Regions from separate parts of the Homo sapiens genome. Here region 2 is linked to region 1. The links are contacts of gene promoters, found by promoter capture Hi-C in blood cells and fetal thymus (Javierre and others, 2016). All regions are on one chromosome and are shown on one strand. The core of a region is centred on a gene start or on the middle of the fragment in contact, and the rest is flanking DNA. Distances in the headings are between cores, read along the strand shown. Region 1 holds the start of ATP6V1C1 (ATPase H+ transporting V1 subunit C1). Region 2 overlaps MAILR (macrophage interferon regulatory lncRNA).

What was found. The method cuts DNA at HindIII sites, captures the fragments that hold promoters and counts their contacts. A CHiCAGO score of 5 or more calls a contact.
Region 2: a fragment that was not itself captured here is called in contact with the fragment with the promoter of ATP6V1C1 in region 1 in 1 of 17 cell types (erythroblasts); the score reaches 5.7 in erythroblasts.

The regions. Positions count from the first base shown.
Region 1 is chr8:103,019,223-103,023,171 of GRCh38, reverse strand. It overlaps ATP6V1C1 (ATPase H+ transporting V1 subunit C1), which reads right to left and starts at 2,089. Exons shown (of 13, transcript NM_001695.5): 1 at 1,947-2,089. RefSeq lists an enhancer at 1,650-1,859. The HindIII fragment of the contact is 13,168 bases long and covers 46-3,949 here.
Region 2 is chr8:102,901,221-102,905,169 of GRCh38, reverse strand. The region is part of intron 2 of MAILR (macrophage interferon regulatory lncRNA); the gene reads right to left. Among named protein-coding and RNA genes, the nearest start is that of MAILR, 39 kb to the right of the region's middle. RefSeq lists an enhancer at 1-100. The HindIII fragment of the contact is 627 bases long and covers 1,339-1,965 here.

The DNA of each region.
Region 1 (3,949 bases), core at 840-3,339:
CTCCCCGTTTCAGCCATGCTAGCCTTTCAAAAAGGCTGAAAAGCTTTCTTCCTCTTCACATTTCAGGGCCTTGACATACGCTGTTGCTTCAGCCTGAAATGTTCCTTTTTCGTTTTTCAGAGACAGGGTCTAGCTCTGTTTCCCAGGAGGGAGTGCAGTGGCATGATCACAGCTCACTGCAGCCTCGAACTACTGGGCTCAAATGATCCTCTCGCCTCAGCCTCCCGAGCAGCTAGGACTACAAGCACACACCACCACTCCCAGCTAGTTATTTTTTTATTTTTGGTAGAGACGGTGGTCTCACTATGTTGCCCAGGCTGGTCCTGAACTCCTGGCCTCAGGCAATCCTCCCACCTCAGCCTCCCAAAATGTTGGGATTATAGTCACGAGCCACCCTGCCAGGCCTGGAATGTTCTTTTCACTCACACCTTCACATTCCCTTTTCAGTCTCTTTTCAGATCTCAGGTCAAAAGTCATACCCTCTCAGAGCGAGAGGGTATGAAGAATATAAATAAAATTGTTTTAATCTTTAAAAAGTCATATTCTTAGCAATGCCTTTTTAAAATCTTCCATAATACACATGCCCCTACTACACTCTTTCATACCACTGTTATTCCTTCAAAGCACATTTCACGCTTGCTTGATTTTTAAAATCCATCCCCTCTGCTTGCCTGTAAGCTCTATAAAGACAATTTTCTAAACCCTACCATCAGCACTGTACCTGCATACAGCATGTATTCAGTACACATTATTTGCATGAATAAGTAAACGACTACCATTCAAAAGTCCTCGTTACCTGACTCCCAACTTTCTTTCCCACTTCTCCGCAGTGCAATCCACTGTAAAAGCTACTTCTGACTCCACCAGAAGCATTCCCTACCCCCATCTTCAGGCTTTCAAATCCTGTGGCTTTCCCTGCCTGTAAAATTATCCCCATTTCTCTCAACCTGTTCAAATCCTGAGGGCTTGCCAAGACTCAAGTTTTCTTTCCTCCAGAATATCTTCCCATAGTGCCAGTTTACACATGTGTCGTTGCTCCACACTTTCAAAGCACTTCGCATTCTCTTTTTGGTAAGTATACATAAACTGCATCGTATTTTAACGTGTCCTGTGTGTAGACTTTTCTCTCCAACGTTAGTGCTAACTCCTAAGGATAGACTGTTCACATCCCACCCGTTCCATTCCCAGAGCGGCGCTAAGTACTGGGCTCGCACTGAAGCATGTGATTTTTCCCTAACATACCAGAATTTTCCTCTGAAAAGAATACTAGCTTCCCCCTTACTCCTGTTTCTCAAGTGATTCAATATGCCTTATGTGACTCTCACCAAGTTCTTTTCTAGGGGTTTGTTTTGTTTTGTTCTGTTTTGTTTGCCTACCCTCCCCCATTCTACTAAAAAATAGTTGAGTTCTCTGGATTCCTGTTCTTTCTCATTCCTAGAGGGACCTTGTGTACTCTGTGAGGGTTCCTTGCCTGCAGTTAGGGGCTCCTAGGCCTTTAAACTGTCATCCCACCACCCCCGACCCCCGACACCCGCGCCCCCCCCAACACACACCCAGTGAAGGCACTTGCGCTAGCTGTGACCTCACACACACCACTCCATAGCCTCACCTGGACCTATCACTTCATTCCCCTCAATCAATCAGGCGGCGTGCATTCCTACCCAAGAAGAAAGATCCCAGACCGCTGTATCTCTCCTTTCTGCCTGTCATTAACTACCCACGAGAGCTCTTTCTCTTTTTCCCTCCTTCTCTTCCTTAGAGACGGAACCTAGGCCCAAGACGGTGAATTGGCGCCGAGAAACCAGACACAGCCACCCAGCCAGCTCCAGCTCCAACGCCACGGTCTCTGCCCCCGCACCCACCCGCGTCCCTCCCAGGCAGCGACCGGAGCTCATGCTTCGGCCTGACCAGGACTCCCCATCCGGGGAGAGCCATCGCTCACTGACCCAGGAAGGTGTCAAACGAGGAAGTAGCAGCAGTAACAGGTACCGAGGCAGACAGCCTAGCGGACGCTATCGGCTCAGCGATCCATCCCTTCCCGACCTAAGCTCCGGCCTCACGGCTTCCTCTACCCAAGCGAACACAGAACAAGTCACGTGCCAGCCCAGCAGTCAGCTGACCGCGGCGCGCGCTGCTCCGCCTACGCCCGCGCCACTGCGCAGCCGCAGCCGCTGCCACTGCCGGGCCTTGGGAGAGGGGCGGGACTAGGAGGCTACGGGGCGGCAAGGGGACCCTATATTCGGGGCTGATCGCTGTTGTTCCAGAGTGGGTGGGGTTTTCCGCTTCTTCCAGTGTTGCAAGTGGCGTTTTGTCCACCACTTGTAAACGTCAGCGCCACTGCAGGTTTCTGCGGGTCAGAAATTGTCTCCAACCCCCTACAAGGGCTTCTCCACTTGGGGTTTTCTTCGTCAGCTGGGTTTTCTACCTAGTATACTGGCTAGTAGTTCATTTTAGCAGATTCACATTTTCCTGAAGTCCACTTAGACTTAATTTCATAAATGGTCCATGGAGCATTTACTGTGCGCCAAGCACTGCGCTCGTTCTTAGGATTGCCTACTGGAGAGAATCACTCCTTGCCACGAAAGCGCCTCATAGATAGTTGAAACCACATTAGATAGTGGGAAACCAAAGGTTTTAGGACAGAGGCATAGACAGGGGAAAGCATCTCCTTTGGAGAAAAATAGGTAACAAGCTCCTCCCAGGAACCCTGCTTATTTCATTAGCTTGGGGAGATAGATAGTAATGTCCTAATTTAGAACACAGAGTTTTAGAAGTAGTAGAAATTTTGAGATGTTCTAATTTAATCCTTTTAGATCTACAGATGAAGAAAGTGAGGGCACGGAGTTGTTCAGCGCAAGGGAATAGATACCAGGTGTTGAATCCAGGCTCTCCTACTTACTAGTTGTGTGACCTTACTCCTCTGAATTTCAGCCTGTTCACATGCAAAGTGGTGGTAATAATACCTTACACAGGTATTGTGAGGATTAAATGAAGCCTGTGGTTAGCACAGTGCCTGGTACATAGGAAACAACCAGTAAATGGTCGTCATTATTACTATGTATTATAGGACCCAGGTTTTCTGACCTATACTATGCCTTTTCTGCTGTGTCCCCCTACAGAAATTCACCACAGAATTTCTCAGAGCCTCAGTATTAGGTTGGACAGAAAGTAACAACCACCAGACTATCCCCAACCTGACGCTTTCACCAGTTTTGGATGAAGTTCATGCAATTACAATAACCAGTTCTATAACATGGCTTCAGAAACTTATCAGAATTCCAGAGGCTTTTATCTGCCATCACGAAATGAGCCTAAAGGCATTTTTTTTTTGGTTAGGTCCACTAAAACTTTCTGCCATGATGCAAATGTTATCCTGTGCTGTCTGTACAGTACCCACTAGCTACATGGAGCCATTGAGCACTTGAAATATGGTTAGTGTGACTTAGTAACTGAATTTTAAAATTTATTTCACTTTAATTAAAATTTAAATAGCCACATGAGACCAGTGACAACAGCCTTAGACAGTGCAGTTTTAAGGTCCATGCTTGAACTATCTTGGTTTCTTCGTGCTTGTGTGTGGTCCTGAGGCAGACTTTTTGTCTTGGATTCTTAATTTCTAAACTGAATTATACCTCGCGCAACTTTCCAACATTTGGGGTTTTTTTTTTAGTTTTGGGGTTTTTTTTGAGATGGAGTCTCGCCCTGTCGCCCAGGTTGGAGAGCAGTGGTGCGATCTCAGCTCACTGCAAACTCCACCTCCCGGGTTCAAGCGATTCTTGTGCCTTGCCCTCCTAAGTAGCTGGGACTACAGGCGTGCACCATCACACCCAACTAATTTTTGTATTTTTAGTAGAGACGGGTTTTCCTCATGTTGGCCAAGCTGGTCTCCAAGTCCTGAGGTCAAGTGATCTGCCCACTTGGCCCTCCCAAAGTGCTGGGATTACAGGGG
Region 2 (3,949 bases), core at 403-2,902, 120 kb after region 1:
AGTGCTTCTGAAGAGGCCCAAGGTTGAGGCCTGTCCTGGAGAGCTGACTCCAGGAGCAGCGTGCAGCTGGTCCCTTGTGCCCAGCCATCTTCTGCCATGGCTGTACCTGGGGAAAGTGCCTGAATGTCATGGAAGAATCGTCACTGAGAGTGTAGGCCCTCTTGGCTGTGGAGGAGTCACATCTAATTACAGCACAGGCACTCTGTCCTCAGCCTGAGGCTGGGTGCCTCAGTGATGCCTGCATTTCCACTGTGTTCAAGGGTCTCACACACACTGTCTGGTGCAGGCCAGCATGGGTGCCTCAGTTACTTCAGTAGGTCCAGGGATAGATGGAGGCCTCGGCCATTGTGGGGCCTCCTAAGGCAATCAGGCCTTGCCCCACTGGAAGGCTTTTTGTTTGGGGCCCTTAGACTGTAAGGTATTGCAGAGGAAAAGGGCTTACTAATAGACAACGGCAACTAGGACTGACTCCTTAGGTCTGAATGAGTTCCCCTGGGGCTTCCTAACTTTATCCTAAGAAGGACCCCTGTCCCCAAGAAAGAATGGAAATAAAAGGGGGAAAGGAAGAACGTAAAATCATATTTGCTTGACTATAGGTTTACAAAAATCCCTGGAAGGATACATAAGAGACTAGTAACAGATCCGCCCACCACGGCCTCCCGAGTAGCTGAGACTACAGGCATGCGCCACCACGTCCAGCTAATTTTGGTGTTTTTGTAGAGATGGGGTTTCCCCATGTTACCTAGGCTGGTCTTGAACTCCTGGGCTCAAGTGATCTGCTCACCTTGGCCTCCCAAGATGCTGGGATTACAGGTGTGAGCCACCGGGCCCATCCAGTGGTTACCTTTTGCAGGTTGGGGTGGGAAATGGATGGATGCAGGGTGGCTGAGAGGAACATTCTTTACTATCTTCTTATTCTTTCTTGATTTTTGAAGTATCCATAAAACTGAGTCAAAAAAAAAATAAATTAAGACAACAGGAAATTTAAAGGCCATGTCTTCAAATAGTTTAGGAAGGCTGAGTAAGGGTGCCCTAGAGAAGAGGAAGGAGAGAGAAAAAGCAGCTACAGGCCCCATTCCCATGGCAAGGCTGAGGCTCCTGCGGCTTGGCCACAAGAAGCGGGTACAGGAGGAACCAGCTGCCCTTCAGCTCTGCGGGCTTCACCTTGCTATAATTCCAAGATGAAAGGAACGGTGACCTCATTTTGAACTTCATTCTAGTGAAATAGTTACAATTCTTGTCTCTGCTGCCTCTGAAATAGCTCTGGAACCTGGGCTTTCTTCACCTCTCACCTGGATTCCTCTGACAATCTTCAGACTAGTCTCCTTGTCCCAAGCTTCAAATCCATCCACCAGACTTAAATTTCTTTTTTGAAATGAAAACCTGATCATGCCCCTCCAGGCCCCTTCCACACTTAAAACCCTTCAACAGTTGCCCATGTTGCCCATTGAGCTATGACAAAATCTCAGTTCTTTCTATGTCCTTTCAGGATCTGCCACTCTCCTACTCGCCTTTGCTCTACCCACACACGGCTGCTTGTGGTTTTCTGGGTGTCCCATCCTGCCATGCTTTGAGGTTTTGCATATGCAGTTCCTTCTGCATATGCAAAAGGAATATGCATATTCCTTCGTTTTGTGTTTTGTCATCCTGGAAAACTCCATTCTTCCTTCAGGATGTGGCTCAAATGCCATCTCATCTCTGTGACCTTGCCCTGGACCCTGACCCCAGTCACCCAACACACTTTGAATATGTGCTGATTAACACTTATTGTACCCTAGTCGCATTATTTCTACGCCTCTGTTAGACTTTCAACCCCATGACAGACAGCAGGAGTTATGCCTTATCCATCTTTTTATTTCCAGTTTACAGAGAAAACTTGGGTTATAAATGGATCACCAGTTTGCTCTGGATTAAATGCTCAGGACCAGCACATAGAACACTGCTAAGGTACCCCGAGGTTAAGCTTGCCTTCCAGAATTCCGTAAACTTGGCTCTGTCCCTGTCTAAATAATAATGCTGTTTAAACACTACAATTGGCTCTGTCCCTGACTAAATAATGATTGGAGTTTAAACTCTAGCCAGATAAATCCTTTGCTCACTTTTTTTTTTTAAATGCTGAAGTACTTGAAGATGTGGCCTTATACCAAGGAGCACAAAAGTGGTATTATTCACTGTGTAAATGCTTTGAAAGTCAGAACGTGTCACACTCCTTAGTAACACAGCACAGTGATACAGTAGCAACAGGTAGGGTCCAATAGCAACCACGTGTGGACAGACTCACTCTGGGGAAACTCCAAGGAGTAGAGTAATGGTGTTTTTAGTTCCAGCTCAGAAAGCCAAGTGTGGTGTTCACATAGTATGCCTCTCTGTAGGGTAGCTGTGGCAAATGTTAATGGATTTATGAACTGCTAAAAGATTAAACCCCACAGAACTTTTTACATAAAATTTTTTGTTGATTTTTAAAAACTATAGTGAAATGTTCATAATGTACCACTTTAACCATTTTAAAGTGTACAATCCATTGGCATTAACTACATCACAATGTTGTGCAACCATTATCCATTTCCAAAACTTGTTCATTATCCCAGACAGACTCTATGCCCATTAAACAATACCTTCCCATTTCTCCTTTCCCTCTGGTCCCGGGTGTCCGTTCTACTTTCTCTCTTTATGAATGTGCCTATTCTAGGTATCTCATACAAGTGGAATCATACAAAACTTGTGTTTCTGTGTCCGTCTTATTTCACTGAGCATGTTTTCAATGTTCATCCATGTTGTCGCATGTATCAGGACTTCATTCTTGTTTACGGCCAAGTAATATTCTGTTCTATGTGTATAGCACACTTGGTCAACCCATTTATCTATTGATGGACATTTGGGTTGTTTCTCAATAACCTTTAAGCTATTTTGAATAATGTTGCTATGAACATGGATGTACAATTTCTGAATACCTGCTTTCAATTCTTTTGGATATATAGCTAGAAGTGGAATTGCTGAATCTTACGGTAATTCTGTTTACCTTTTTGAAGAATAGCCAAACTGTTTCCCACAGTGGCTGTAACCAGGTGGCGTTTTCACCAGCAATGTACAAGGGTTTCGATTTCTCTACATCCTTGCCAATACTTGTTATTTTTCATTTTTTGATAACAGTCATCCTAATGGGTTTTGTAGTTTTGATTTGAACTTCCCTGGTGACTAGTGAAGTTAAACATCTTTTCATATGCTTATTGGCCATTTGTATACCTTCTTTGAAGAAAGGTCTATTCAAATTATTTGCCCATTGTTTTTTTCAGAGATGGGGTCTTACTCTGTCACCCAGGCTGGAGTGCAATGGCATGATCATAGATCGCTACAACCTTGAATTCCTGGGCTCAAGTGATCCTCCCACCTTGGCCTCCCGAGTAGCTGGGACTACAGGCATGCACCACCACACCCAACTACTTTGCCCTTTTTAAAAATATTTCCAACTTTTACTTCAAGTTCAGTGGTACACGTGCAGGATACTTTGCCCATTTTTTAATACGATTTTTTGTTGTTGTTGAGTTGTAGTTCCTTATGTATTATGGATATTAATCCCTTATCAGATATAATATTTGCAAATATCTTTGCATAACGTTTTTTTGAGATGGAGCCTCACTCTGTTGCCCAAGCTGGAGTGCAGTGGCATAATCTTGGCTCACTGCAACCTCCGCCTCCCAGGTTCAAGCAATTCTCCTGCCTCAGCCTCCCAAGTAGCTGGGATTACAGGTGTGTGCCAGCATACCCAGCTATGGGATGTATTTTTAGTAGAGACGGGTTTCGCCATGTTGGCCAGGCTGGTATCTAACTCCTGACCTCAGGTGATCTGCCTGCCTCGGCCTCCCAAAGTGCTGAGATTACAGGCATGAGCCACCATGCCTGGCCATGTCTGGCCTTTGCATAACTTTTTAAACGTCATCCAAAATAAAGT